4 separate regions of the Homo sapiens genome follow, and all the other regions are linked to region 1. The links are contacts of gene promoters, found by promoter capture Hi-C in blood cells and fetal thymus (Javierre and others, 2016). All regions are on one chromosome and are shown on one strand. Each heading gives the region's core, a stretch centred on a gene start or on the middle of the fragment in contact. The rest is flanking DNA. Distances are from core to core; before and after follow the strand shown.

Evidence for each region. Contacts are between HindIII fragments. The CHiCAGO score rates a contact against its expected background, and 5 or more counts as called.
Region 2: a contact is called between a fragment that was not itself captured here and the fragment with the promoter of SEPTIN4 in region 1, in 2 of 17 cell types (total CD4 T cells and total CD8 T cells). The highest score is 5.9, in total CD4 T cells.
Region 3: a fragment that was not itself captured here is called in contact with the fragment with the promoter of SEPTIN4 in region 1 in 7 of 17 cell types (naive CD4 T cells, total CD4 T cells, naive CD8 T cells and 4 more); the score reaches 7.8 in naive CD4 T cells.
Region 4: a contact is called between a fragment that was not itself captured here and the fragment with the promoter of SEPTIN4 in region 1, in 1 of 17 cell types (endothelial precursors). The highest score is 5.2, in endothelial precursors.

Annotation. Positions count from the first base shown.
Region 1 is chr17:58,542,538-58,545,934 of GRCh38, reverse strand. It overlaps SEPTIN4 (septin 4), which reads left to right and starts at 1,607. Exons shown (of 14, transcript NM_001368771.2): 1 at 1,607-3,309. The coding sequence starts at 1,749. SEPTIN4-AS1 (SEPTIN4 antisense RNA 1) reads right to left here. Exons shown (of 5, transcript NR_110810.1): 3 at 2,337-2,478; 4 at 1,264-1,399. The HindIII fragment of the contact is 11,159 bases long and covers 1-3,397 here.
Region 2 is chr17:59,033,713-59,037,109 of GRCh38, reverse strand. All of the region lies in intron 17 of TRIM37 (tripartite motif containing 37), which reads left to right. Among named protein-coding and RNA genes, the nearest start is that of TRIM37, 71 kb to the left of the region's middle. The HindIII fragment of the contact is 4,005 bases long and covers 1-3,397 here.
Region 3 is chr17:58,983,734-58,987,130 of GRCh38, reverse strand. PPM1E (protein phosphatase, Mg2+/Mn2+ dependent 1E) reads right to left here. Exons shown (of 7, transcript NM_014906.5): 7 at 1,952-3,397. It also overlaps a transcript of TRIM37 not described here. Among named protein-coding and RNA genes, the nearest start is that of TRIM37, 120 kb to the left of the region's middle. The HindIII fragment of the contact is 225 bases long and covers 1,616-1,840 here.
Region 4 is chr17:58,946,353-58,949,749 of GRCh38, reverse strand. The region is part of intron 1 of PPM1E (protein phosphatase, Mg2+/Mn2+ dependent 1E); the gene reads right to left. Among named protein-coding and RNA genes, the nearest start is that of TRIM37, 160 kb to the left of the region's middle. The HindIII fragment of the contact is 708 bases long and covers 1,359-2,066 here.

The DNA of each region.
Region 1 (3,397 bases), core at 358-2,857:
GGGCACAGTTTATTTGAAACTCCATCTCAAATAAAAAAAAAAAAAGAAAAATGAAGCTGACCATCCTATAATCTCAATGACCCTTCAGAGTTCATAATAGAATTTTGGATATGGTAGAGTCTATGTCTAAAAGAGAGAATGAGAGAAAGAGCATGTGAAAGGGAGAGAAAGGTGACAGAGTCTCCTCCAAAATGGTCATCCAAATTGGAAAGTCACTTTTCAAGAGAGAACCGGAGTCCGGCTGATTGGATAGCTGACAGGATCATGAGAAAGGACATTAACATTTGTTGTGTGACACCCATGTACCAGGCAGTGGTTTCCAGGTGAAGAAACCAAGTCCCAGGGAAGGCAGGTAATTTCTCCTAGGTACACCTGTAGTCATTTATGATGGAAACCAATGATTAACTCCAAATTCCTTCTTTCTTTCTTTCTTTCTTTTTTTTTTTTTTTTTTGAGATGGAGTCTTGCTCTGTCACCCAGCCTGGAGTGCAGTGGCACGATCTCAGCTCACTGCAGCCTCCGCCTCCCAGGTTCCAGCGATTCTCGTGCCTCAGCCTCACGGGTAGCTGGGATTACAGGCACGCACCACCACGCCTGGCTAATATTTGTATTTTTAGTAGAGATGGGGTTTCACCATGTTGGCCAGGCTGGTCTCAAACTCCTGACCTCAGGTGATCCACCCGCCTCAGCCTCCCAAAGTGCTGGGATTACAGGTGTGAGCCACTGCACCCAGCCCAAATCCCTTTTATTTTGTTTTTATTTATATATATTTTTTGAGATGGAGTTTTGCTCTTGTCACCCAGGCTGGAGTAAAGTGGCACAATCTCAGCTCACTGCAACCTCCAACTCCCGGGTTCAAGCGATTCTCCTGCCTCAGCCTCCTGAGTAGCTGGGATTATAGGTGCCTGCCACTATGCCTGGCTAATTTTTTTGTATTTTTAGTAAAGACGGGGTTTTATCATGCTGGCCATGCTGGCCTCAAACTCCTGACCTCAGGCAATCCACCCGCCTCGGTCTCCCAAAGTGCTGGGATTACAGGCGTGAGCCACCGCACATGGCAAATCCCTTTTATTAATAAAACACTAAACTCTCCTGGAGCAAGAATGTGAGAATTTTATTATTTGAGCAACCTGGATTTTTACCCCAGGAGCAATGAAACAATCCATGAGACCTGGAAAAAGCTGAAGCTCTCTTTTTTTTTTTTTTTTTAACTTGTATACAGTACAGTTTCAAACAAAATTGGGGCAACTTTGTACTTCGTACCTTATTAAAACTGGGGCGAACACAGCGTGTTTGGTTTGATCTTGTCTTCATAGGATCTTCTGGCTGATTCCTTCTCTGGATGAGTCCTGAGAATTTCTAGAATCTCGGGAGAGTAAAGGAGGGTCTGGAGCCTTCTCTATGTACAAGGAAATCCCAGTTTTGTTAAAAACTTGCCAAAGGCTTGGTGATATAACTCCAAAGACAAATCCACAGATTCCTTTCAGGTACTTCTTTGGGATTCTGTGAAGAATTGTGGCTGTACACTAGGATGTTTAATAGGAAGGAAGCTCCTTCCTTTATGACATCACCAGACAGAGAGGTAGCTAAGGGGATTATTTGAGACACTCTTAGAACAACAGCCACTTTTGTGGGAGCCCAAGAAACAGCAGCTTTAAAACAGGGTAAATATTCAGGCATCATTAGGATCCTGAATACAAGCCAGCCAGTAAAATACGGGATCTACTCAGAAGGGCACAATCTATCAGATGGTCAAGACAAATAAACCTGGGGCCAAGGTAGCGGTTTCAGCACAGAGAGGGTCTGAGGTTACTACTAACACATCCCCTCAGCAGGGACATGGGTACGTTCTTGCCTCAAGCCATCGAAGTGCTGCAGTCTCCCTGAACCCTTCCCACCGAAGATCAGAAGCTGCACATCCCACCACTCCCCATTCAGCATCAGACTACCCTCGATCTGTCTCCCTCCAGTCAGGACCTGGACACTATGCAGTACCCACTCCTCGGGGACCCGAGACTGGACCAAGAACAGAATCATCCCGCCATTCCTCTCCCCATCTAAAGAGCCAGAAGACTCAGACACTGGCTTCCCATGCTTCAAGCAGACAATGGAAAGTTAGTCCACCCAGAGAGGAAGCAGCACGAAGAGGCAGTGAGAGCAAGTCAGGGCGCGAGGTCGGCCATCATGCTTCATCAATCCCAGATGCCAAATCTACTCATCAGTTGAGTTTTCAAGACCAGAAGAATAACTTACAATCACAAATCTTAGAAGATGACCCACCATCCAAGGTCCAGAACCCCCAAGGAGTCAGAGTTCCCCGTAGGATTTTGTCTTACCCAAAGGATGAAGCAGTACAAACTGAGCCCATCCAAAGAATTACGACTACTAGTGAGATCAGATCTCCAAGGAGTCCCTCTCTCCTAGAGCACGGAAGCAGCTGTGTCTCTGCAGACTATCAGACAGCCCAGAGAAGGGTCCCTGTAGAAGAATCAGAAACAGGTCCTTACGGTCCAATTCCTTCAAAACCCAAGGCCTTGTATAGGAATATGAACTTGGACTCATTGCTCAAACTCTCTGTCCTTAAAGATTCTGATGGTGTACACCGAGTTTCTGCACGGGTAGACCCTGAGTCTCTTCATAAGTATTCTGCCTATCCTGAAACCAAGCCCTCCGCAAAGGTCTTAGTATCATCACAGGTGGAGTCCAACGTGAGGACCCCAATCCGAGGAAACAGCGAGGTTGGCCGCAGGGTCACCATCTCCCCAGGGGTACAGTCAGTAGAGCCAACTCACCATGTGACAGTTCCATCAGTGTCTGAGGGCTCCCACAAGTCATCCATGTTTGTTACTCCAGAGCCCATCTATAAACAGCAAACCCAAAAACCCCCAGAAATTACTTACATGTCCCAAGGACCTACACCCAGGTATCCAGAACTCTCGCAAAAGCCCTCCATCCATGCAGAACTGGAACTGACCCCTAGGCCCTTGCCTCCTCGGTCCTTACCTAGGTACGGACCTGACTCCTCATGGTGGCCCTTGCTGAATCCTGAAGTTGAAACACCCCAAAGCCAGCTGACAACACCGGATTTTGAGCCTAAGTGCTCTCCTTCCCTAGATCTTTTATTGTCCGGTTTTAAAATAGACTCTAGCCCTTTCTGTGAGGATCTGAAGTTCCAGAGAGAGAAGGCAAGCCTATCACCACCATCACCACCAAAGGAGTTTCCAAGTTGGGCACCACTGAGTGAAGTGCCACAGACCCCCAAGCACACCTGCAAACAACCCATTCAAAGGTTTACTGCTTTCTTCCTGGGTATGTGAAGAAGCAGACTGCCCAGGTGCAGCCCCAATTTAGTGAGATGGGATGTTGGGGTGGGCAGGAAAGACCACCTCTTCATTCT
Region 2 (3,397 bases), core at 598-3,097, 490 kb before region 1:
GGAGCCTTGCTGTATTGCCCAGGCTGGAGTGCAATGGCACGATCTCGGCTCACTGCAACCTCTGCCTCCCGGGTTCAAGCCATTCTCTTACCTCAGCCTCCCAGGTAGTTGGGACTACAGGCATGCACCACCATTCCAAGCTAACTTTTTTGTATTTTTAGTAGAGATGGGGTTTCACCATGCTGGCCAGGCTGCTCTCAAACTCCTGACCTCAAGTGATCCACCCGCCTCAGCCTCCCAAAGTGCTGGGATTACAGATGTGAGCTACCACACCTGGCCTGGTTAATGTTTTAGAACTACACAATTGTCTAAAGAGTTATGTGATCTAAAGAATTACGATGTTAAGTTATGCGTTAAAAAGGGGATGATTGGGCTTATATAAAAGCTAGGTATAAAGTTAAATGTTTACTTAATAATCTTATTTTATAGACCATATTAAATAAGGAGATAGCTTGAAACAAGAAATATTTATTGACTCAACTGGCTGTAGTCCTGGCTACTTGGGAGACTGTGGCCGTAGGATCACTTGAGCCTAGGAGTTCGAGGGTACAGTGAGCCATGATTCTGCCACCGTACTCCAGCCTGGGTGACAGAGCAAGACCCTGTCTCTTAAAACACACGCGTGCACACACACACACACACACACACACACACACACACACCCCCAGCAAATACAAACTAGATTTTTCCTACTCACTGGATTCAATGAGCCAATAATCTGGATTAGAATGATACTTAAAACCTTTTTAGCACAAATTTTTTTTAACATAAATTGTCTTTCATTTAACTTCAAATAACTGAATAAACTAAAAGCAGTTCTCATAAGAAGACGTCTGCAGATGCTACCACGCCCAACTAATTTTTTATAGAGACGGAGTCTTGCTCTCTTGCCCTGGCTGGTCTCCAACTCCTGGCCTCAATTAGTCCTCCTGCCTCAGCCTCCCAAAGTGTTGGGATTATAGGCGTGAGCTATTGCACCTGGACCACAGATGTTAGAAGAATGAATGAGCATAATTTTTAAATGAAAATCCAGCACTGATCATTACAAGATTTTGTGATGGTAAATATCGGTATGTAATTTGTAACAAAGTGAAGGATGTGAAAATGTAGAATATTCTGGAAAGGTAGTTTGAGACTAGACTATAATAGGGCCTTGAGTGTCATGATAATGCATACAGGCAGTATGCTGTAATGAACTCAAGTATATAAGTGTGACATTTTAGCAAGATCCATATGGCTTGGCACAAATGGAGAAGAACCTGTCACCGATCCGTCTGTCTTTTTATGAGGTTTTTTTTCTATGTGAACTTCAGAAGCATGGTTTTTGTTGTTTTTTTGTTTTTTTGGTTTTTTGTTTTTTTGTTTTTTTGAATCTCGCTCTGTTGCCCAAGCTGGAATGCAGTGGCACGATCTCAGCTCACTGCAACCTCTGCCTCCTGGGTTCAAGCAATTCTGCCTCAGCCTCCCGAGTAGCTGGGATTACAGGTGCCCTCCACCACGGCCAGCTAATTTTTGTATTTTTAGTAGAGACGGTTTCACCATTGTGGCCAGGCTGGTCTTGAACTCCTGACCTCGTAATCCACCTGCCTCGGCCTCTGAAAGTGCTGGGATTACAGGCGTGAACCACCGCGCCTGGCTGTATAGCTTTATTCTTAATAGCCAAAAGCTAGAAGCAACCCAAATTGTTTTCCAATAGAATAAAGAAATAAATTGGATATATTCATAAATGGATGCTGCACAATAATAATGAAAATGAGGCAGTGGCTCATGTCTCTAATCCCAGCACTTTGGGAGGCTGAGGCATGTGGATCACTTGAGGCCAGGAGTTCAAGACCAGCCTGGCCAACATGGCGAAACCTCATTTCTACTGAAAGTAGAAAAAATTAGCTTGGTGCAATGGCGCACGCTTGTAACCCCAGCTACTCGGGAGGCTGAGGCACAAGAATCATTTGAAACTGGGAGGTGGAAGTTGCGGTGAGCCAAGATTGTGCCACTGTACTCCAGCCTGGGTGACAAAGCAAGACTTTGTCTCAAAGAAAAAAAGAAAAATATTTAAAAAGAAAATGAATAAGATACTTCTATATACAGCCATATAGATGAATCTCATGAATAATGTTGACCAAAGAAGAAGAGCATAAGAGCATACTCTGTTACTACTTTTATACAAATACAAAACAGGCAAAACCCATCTGTAATTTAAGTTAGGATGAAGGTTATTTTTGTAGAGTAGGAGTAGTGAGCAATTTTAGGAGGCATAGGAGGGGGTTCTGGGGTACTGATAATATATTTCTTCATCTGGGTGTGATCACTTTGTGAGCATTCATTGGGATGTACATTTATATATGAGACACACAGAATAGCTTGGAAAGAGAGAAACTGAAATCAGTGCCAACCCAAAGTCTTTGATGCCTGTGGGGAAATGTGATAGTGGGTAGAAAGGTGGGAACATAGGCCGGGCACCATGGCTCCTGCCTGTAATCCCAGCACTTTCGGAGGCTGAGGCGGGCCAATCACCTGAGGTCGGGAGTTCTAAGGCCAGCCTAACCAACATGGAGAAACCCCGTCTCTACTAAAAATACAAAATTAGCCAGGCATGGTGCTGCATGCCTGTAATCCCAGCTACTAGGGAGGCTGAGGCAGGAGAATTGCTTGAACCTGGGAGGCAAGACTCCGTCTCAAAAAAACAAAAAAGAAAAGAAAGCTGGGAACATTTGAAAGGGGAGTAGCCAAAGGTCATACCCACATTAAAAAAAAAAGCAGTTTTTGTTCAGTAGTGAGAATAATGGCCTGAAAAAGCAGTGAGAAACAGGAGACACCGCTTTCTCTACTGTAAGTGCCTTTAACATGGAAGAATGAGCAACTTACATTTTTAAAGGAGAATCAGATATTAGGGCAATAGATTCCATTCACTGGGCTACTGGACTTAACTATACATAAGAACGATCTGAGTAGCTTTTTGGGAAAAAGTCCTGGATCTCACCTCCGTATCCTTTTTTTTTTTTTGAGATGGAGTCTCACTCTGTCAACCAGACTAGAGTGCAGTGGTGTGATCTTGGCTCACTGTAACCTCTGCCTCCCAGGTTCAAGCAATTCTCCTGCCTCAGCCTCCCGAGTAGCTGGGATTACAGGTGCCTGCCACCACACCTGGCTATTCTTTTGTATTTTGGTTTCACCATGTTGGCAAGGCTGGTCTCTAACTCTTGACCTCAGGTGATCTGCACACCTTGGCCTCCCAAAGTGCTGGGATAACAGGCGTGAGCCACTGCACCCAGCTTCTCACCCCAGTATTCTTGTTCAGTGTATCTAGGATGTAATTTTAAAAACTCCTTCAGCTGACTGACATACAACCCAATTTGGGAATTCCTTAGTAAAAGAAAAGAGGTAAAAACAGTTTTCA
Region 3 (3,397 bases), core at 479-2,978, 440 kb before region 1:
AAGATTATAAAAATCAAATAGAACCTGTGTGTGAGGGCCCTTGTTTGCACAATGAGGAGAGGACACACTTCATCTGGAGGTTGCGTGACTGGGGCAGCATCCTACAGCTCAGCATAAGAGGCAGGCTCAACCAACTGCCCAGGGAAGAGCGCTTCTTACTAAACATATTCAACAGTTGGGGCTCTCAGAAAAGAATGTGACTTGTTTTAAATGTAAGTAAGGGATCTTCCATAAGGTTATTCCTAGGCCAAGCAAAAGGAGGTTCCCTAAAGCACAATAGAAAAAGTGTTCTTTACTAATTGCTGTTAAGATGACAGATGGGGCTGGGCGTGGTGTCTCACACCTGTAAATCCCAGCACTTGGGGAGGCCAAGGCAGGCAGATCACTTGAGGTCAGGTGTTCAAGACCAGTCTGGCCAACATGGCAAAACCCCGTCTCTACTAAAAACACAAAAGCCAGGCGTGGTGGCCGACGCCTGTAATCCCAGCATCCTGGGAGGCTGAGGCACAAGAATTGCTTGAACCTGGGAGGCAGAGGTTGCAGTGAGCCGAGATTGCACCACTGCACTCCAGCCAGGGTGACACAGCAGGACTCTTGTCTCAAAAAAGAAAAAAAAAAAAAAAAAAGACAGATGGAAACTTGCAATCAAAAAGAAAATGATGCACTTAGGGAGGCCGAGGTGGGAGGGTGGATCATCTGAGGTCAGGAGTTCGAGACCAGCCTGGCCAACATGGTGAAACCCCACCTCCACTAATAATAATAAAATGAGCTGGGTGTGGTGGCGGGCGCCTGTAATCCCAGCTACTTGGGAGATTGAGGCAGGAAAATCGCTTGAACCTGGGAGGCAGAGGTTGTGGTGAGCCAAGATCACGTCACTGCACTCCGGCCTGGGTGACAGAATGAAACTCCATCTCAAAAGAAGGAAAGGAAATGATGCACACTGACAGCAACAGGGGGCGGGTGTGGGGGGGAATGCTCAGTTATGCAGCTTGTCAGTACAGACAGTTGTTTCTGATAATTTGGTAACTTGGGTAAATTTCTATGATGTTCAAATGATTTTACTGTACCTAGTGGTTCCCTTCTGTCTTGCTGTGTGCTGCTCCTTCAGAAAGAGGTGTTCCTTTTGATCTAAGTAATACTATATTTTAGGGAATTTTTTCAAGTGTAACACTTACTAATCAAAATGTTCCTTTTCTGTCATTCCCTGCTTCAGTAAACCCCTTCAAATATGTCCTTCTTTCAAAACTTCACCTTTTTTTTCTCAATTGTTCATTTGGTTCTATATAAAGTCATGCCAAGGACTGAATGAATTTAGGGAATTAGGAGTTGAAGATTTTTGAAACTATGTAAAATTAATTGTAAAGGCCTTCTTTACTGGTAGGCAGGAGAACAGTGCAGTGTATTGACAAGGTTGACTCGTTTGGAAGGTCAGTTCCCTCCCTTCAGATGCAGGTGTCGTAAGTGACTTCCCTCCCCCACATTGTCCTTTTTGTCTCTGTCTCCTTTTACTCACTTATCAGCAGTCCTTGGGAGGCTTTCCACCACAGCTCATCTGATGATTTCCTTACTTTCTTCTAGCTTGAAACTCAAAGAGGCTAAGCGAAAGGGGAAAGCTTGGTTAGATGCAGAGTTCTAAGAATGAAGTAGTTGGGAGATTTGATGACCACCGCTTAGTCCTTGGCAGGTCGGGTTCCTCTTTTCTTTTAGGATTATAACACCACTCCCTCTCCTCGCAGTTCAGCTAATGAAGAGAACATGTATAAGGCTAAATACCTCTCTTCTGGGGTAAAATAATGTTACAGCAGCATTTAGCAAATCTTCTTTTTAAATGTTCCAAGCTTCCAAACTTAACGTCCATCTCAGGATTTTATTTTCCAGTTCTGAAGAAATCTGCACAAATTTAAACAGTAAATAACTTACCTTTCCTTTAAATAAAAAGACAAATGACTAGTGGTTTTTAAATTGCCAGGTTTTATTAAGATAATTGGCAAAATTTCAACATACACCTTACCTGAATGAACACTTTTAATAAAATATGAAGGATCACTCATGACTACAACTGAACTCAAAAGTGAGATGTAGAGCAGATTTGTAAATTGATAAATTTATTTGGTAAGAAATTATTCACTTCATTCGCTTCACTCCATAGAGAATTCTTTGCAGAGAAATGTTATGAACAAGAGAACAAAGCCTGTCTCTCACCAAAGAGCACCTAGAGTAAGAGTTTACAATGATGTATCTGGATTATCTAATTCATCAAAGTTTATTTCCTTTTCAAAAACAACTGCTGTGTCAGTCTGGAGTTCCCTATTTCATGTTTTCTAATTATTACAATAAATAGTCTTCAAAATAGAAGATAAAATGCTGCTTTAAGAAGTAACAGTTATTTTTCAACACCATACCATTTGTCTGGAAAATCATTGTGTTGTAATACTGGTGGTATCTTACTTTGTTTTGCAAGAGACATTTAAGCTATTTGCAGATCAGAATAGAAGAGTGGGCATTTGTCCTTTAACATCACGTGATTTTCAAAGGTGAAAAAAATTTCTTTTGCTAACTTACGATTCAAAGAAAAATGGTCTCAAATTAAAGTGTGGACAAAACTGTAGTATTCCCTTTTATAGCCTTGCTTAGGTAAGAATGTTCACTGAGTGAATAAATTAGGTTTAAAAATTAAAACAATAATTTAGATCATTTTCCCACAAAGCCTTATCAAGGATTTGATGGGGAAGGAAGCACTTGAACCACAGCAGTTTTATCTGTAAACACTGAACTTGGCCATGCATCATTTTCATCTGCCCACTGGATGTTGCACTTCTCACTGGCACAGTGTTTCAACAGTGGAGTGTGGTTGTCATGAAAATGCAGTATTGACACTATACCACTATAAATGTGGTCAAAATTAGACTCAGTGTTGACATTGACATTGTTGCCATTGTCCTTGGAAAAGGTGTTACTTTCAAGGAGCCTCCTAAATGCAACAGTAACTTTAATCATAATAATTCAAGGACAATGGATGGCACTTCTAGGTAAAGAAAAGGTATATACATATGTGTTTCTACCCATCCTCTTTAGTACAGACCTAAATGGGATTAATAGCCCCAGTGTGTGTTGCTGTAATGTTGCCTAACCTCATGTCCCTCAAAAGTACACATCTAGAAAGTGAACAAAGGAAACCTGTAAATTAGGGACTGACTCCCTTTGAAACTCACAGTGAATGTACAAGGAGTTTGTAATGACTTCAGTTGGTGACCTGAAGTTTGTTTCCCTAACCAATATTACACTCTTGTTTGGATTTATTTTACTATTTCCTATTCTAACTTGTTTAGCAGGCAAACAGATTGATGCAGACCATGTTAAATTGAAAAAGGGATACTGCCACTCTTTAAGGATTGAG
Region 4 (3,397 bases), core at 463-2,962, 400 kb before region 1:
TAAAAAGATGATAACTGCCCTCATGAAGATATGTGAAATTATAAAATTCACCAGGAGAGCCAACAGAGAAAGAAGAAAGAGAAAGGAATAAATAATCTTATCACTACAGAAAACAACCCAACCACAAAAATAAATAATAGGAGGGGAAGGAACAAAGGTTACACAAAATACTCAGAAAACAGTCAATAAATGTCTGGAGTAAGTCCTCATCTATTAATAATAATCTTGAATGTAAAATGGTTAAAATTCCCAATTAAAAGAAACTGGCTGAATGAATTTAAACAACAACAACAAAGCAAACAAACAAAAACAAAAACAAGACCCAACTATATGCTGTCTACAAGAAACTCACCTCATCTATAAGGATATACACAGACTGAAAGTGAAGGGATGGAAAGAGATATTCCACGCAAATGGAAACCAAAAGCAAGCAGGAAAAGCTATATTTATATCAGCTAAAACAGACTTTAAGTCGAAAGCTATAAAAAGAGACAAAGAAGGACATTATATAGTAATTAAGGAAACAATTCAAGAAGCTATAACAATTGTAAATATACATGCACCTAAGACCAGCACACCCAGATTCATAAAGAAAATACTATTAGATCTAAAGGAAGAGACAGATGCCAATACAATAACAGCTGGGGACTTCAACACCCAACTCAGCATTGCAGAAATCATCTAGGCAGAAAATCAACAAGGAAACATCAGATAAACCATAGCATAGCTCTAACAGACATTTACAGAACATTTCACCCAACAGCTGCAGAATATGCATTCTTTTTATTAGCAAATGGAACATTCTCCAGAATTGACTACATGTTAGGACACAGAACAAGGCTAAAAAAATTTTTTTAATTGAAGTCATATCAAGTATCTTATCTGACTATGGAATAAAACTAGAAACCAATAACAAGTGAAACATTCAAAATTACACAAATACATGGAAATTACACAACATGCTCCTAAACAACCAATGGGTGAAGAAAGAAATTAAGAAGGAAATTGACTAATTCCTTGAAACAAATGAAAACAGAAACACAACATACCAAAACCTATGGGACTCAGCCAAAGCAGTATATAATATGTCTCTGCAGTAAAAATATGTATGAAAATTGAAATTAAATTTTTAAAAACTTTCTGTGACCATAAGGCTCCAGCGTTAAACATTTTCTTTTTCATTGCCTTATCAGTGTAACTACTGGTACACAAATGATCTAATATAGTATACACTTTGATAAACATAAAAATTAAACTCTCATTGGAGAATTTTTTTTTAAAGGAAGAAACCTTACTTGCCAGATAAGAAATCTTATCTGCCATGGTCTTGGCCTCAATGAAATCTTGGACCTCAAGCTTCAGCCTAATACCATAATGGGATTAGACTTTGGGAAATCTTAGGGGATGTTGGGTGAGTGCATTTAGCACATGGGAAGGATGTGAATTGTGTGGCCAGAAAAGACTGTGGCAGATTATTTTTAAAAAGGCCGCAACAGCATTCCTGGTCCCGCATGCTATTTTAGAACTTTGCCATTCCCCATAAAAAAATAGAGTCTGTTTCCCTTCCTAATCTAAACATGGGTGAGGTGTGGTGACTACTCGGATGAAAAAAATGTAGCAAAAGTGATACTGTGTGACTTTTGAAGTTTGTTCATAAAAGGCCACGTGGCTTCCCCCGGCTTCCTCTTCTTTCTTCCTCTGTCTCCCTCTGGATACTTGCTCTTCATACTCAGCCAAGCCATCAAGCCATGAGGAAGCCCAAACTAGCCATGTGGAGAAACCACATGAACAGGCTCATGTGGATGTAGCCTGAGGTCTCCCAGGCAGTAGCCATTATCAATTGCTTGACATGTAAGTTCACAAGCCTTCAGATGATTCCAGTCCCCCAGCCTGAGTCTTCCAACAGAGACCCCAGTTGGAACAGAGATAAGGTGACCTTGCTTTACCCAGTTTTAATTTCTGACTGAAAGACATTGTGAGCATAATAAATAATTGTTTTATGCCACTAAGTTTTGTGGTAATTTGCAATACAGTGACAATAACTGAAAACCCAATATTTAGAAGCTTAGTAGAAGACAAGGGACCTATGAAGACTAAAGAGAAATGGCAAAATCTGTAAAAGGAGAACCGAGATAGTAGAGAGTATTTGAAGGAGGGAGCAGTGAACTCTGTCAATTGCTGAGAGGTCAAATAAGTGAAAAAAAAAAAAAAAAGGCCAGGTGCAGTGTCTCGTACCCGTAATCCCAGCCCCTTGGGAGGCCAAGGTGGGTGGATCACCTGAGACCAGGAATTCAAGACCAGCCTGGCTAACATGGTGAAACCCTGTCTCTACCAAAAATACAAAAACTAGCTGGGTGTGGTGGTGCACGCCTATAATCCCAGCTACTTGGGTGGCTGAGGCATGAGAATCGCCTGAACCCAAGAGGCAGAGGTTGCAGTGAGCTGAGATCACGTCACTGCACTCCAGCCTGGGTGATAAAGCAAGACTGTCTCAAAAAAAAAAAAAAAAAAAAAAAGGCCAGGAGTGTGGCTCACACTTGTAATCCCAACACTTTGGGAGACCGAGGTGGGCAGATCACACTCAAGCCTGGGCAACAGAGCAAGACTGTCTAAAAAAAAAAAAAAAAAAAAAAAAAAAACAGGAAAAAGGAAAATAACTTTCTGTTTAACAAAATGGTCAAATGGTGCTGGAAAAATTGGATATCCACATGCAAAATAATCAAGTTGGACCCCTTCCTTACACCATATACAAAAATTAATGCCAAATGCATCACAGACCTAAATGTAAAGCTAAAACTCATAAAACTCCTAAAAGAAAACTCCTAAAAGAGTAAATCTTCATGACCTTGGATTAGGCAATGGTTTTCTTAGCTCTGACACCAAAAGCACAAGCAGAAAAGAAAAAAAATATTAAATTGGACTACATCAAAATTTAAAACTTTTGTATCACAAATCAGTAAAGTGAAAAGACAACCCATAGACTGGTAGAAAATATTTGCAAATCTGCCAGGCATAGTGGCTTATGTCTGTAATTTTGGTACTTTGCAAGGGGGTAAGGTTGGGGCCAGGAGTTTGAGATCAGCCTGGGCAACTTAACAAGACCCTGTCTCAAAACAAACAACAACAAAATAGCTGGGTATGGTGGGCACACCTGTAGTCCCAGCTAATTGGGAGGCTGAGGCAGGAAGATCGCTTTAAGCCCAGAGTCCAAGGCTGCAGTGAGCCATAATCATCGTTATATTCCAGCCCGAGAGACAGAGAGACCCTGTCTCAAAACAAAACAAAAAATTGCAAATCATATATCTAATGAGACTGGTATCCCAAATATGTAACGAATCCTTATATTTCAATAATAAAAAGACAACCCAAAGGCTTTTTTCCAAAGAAGATATACAAA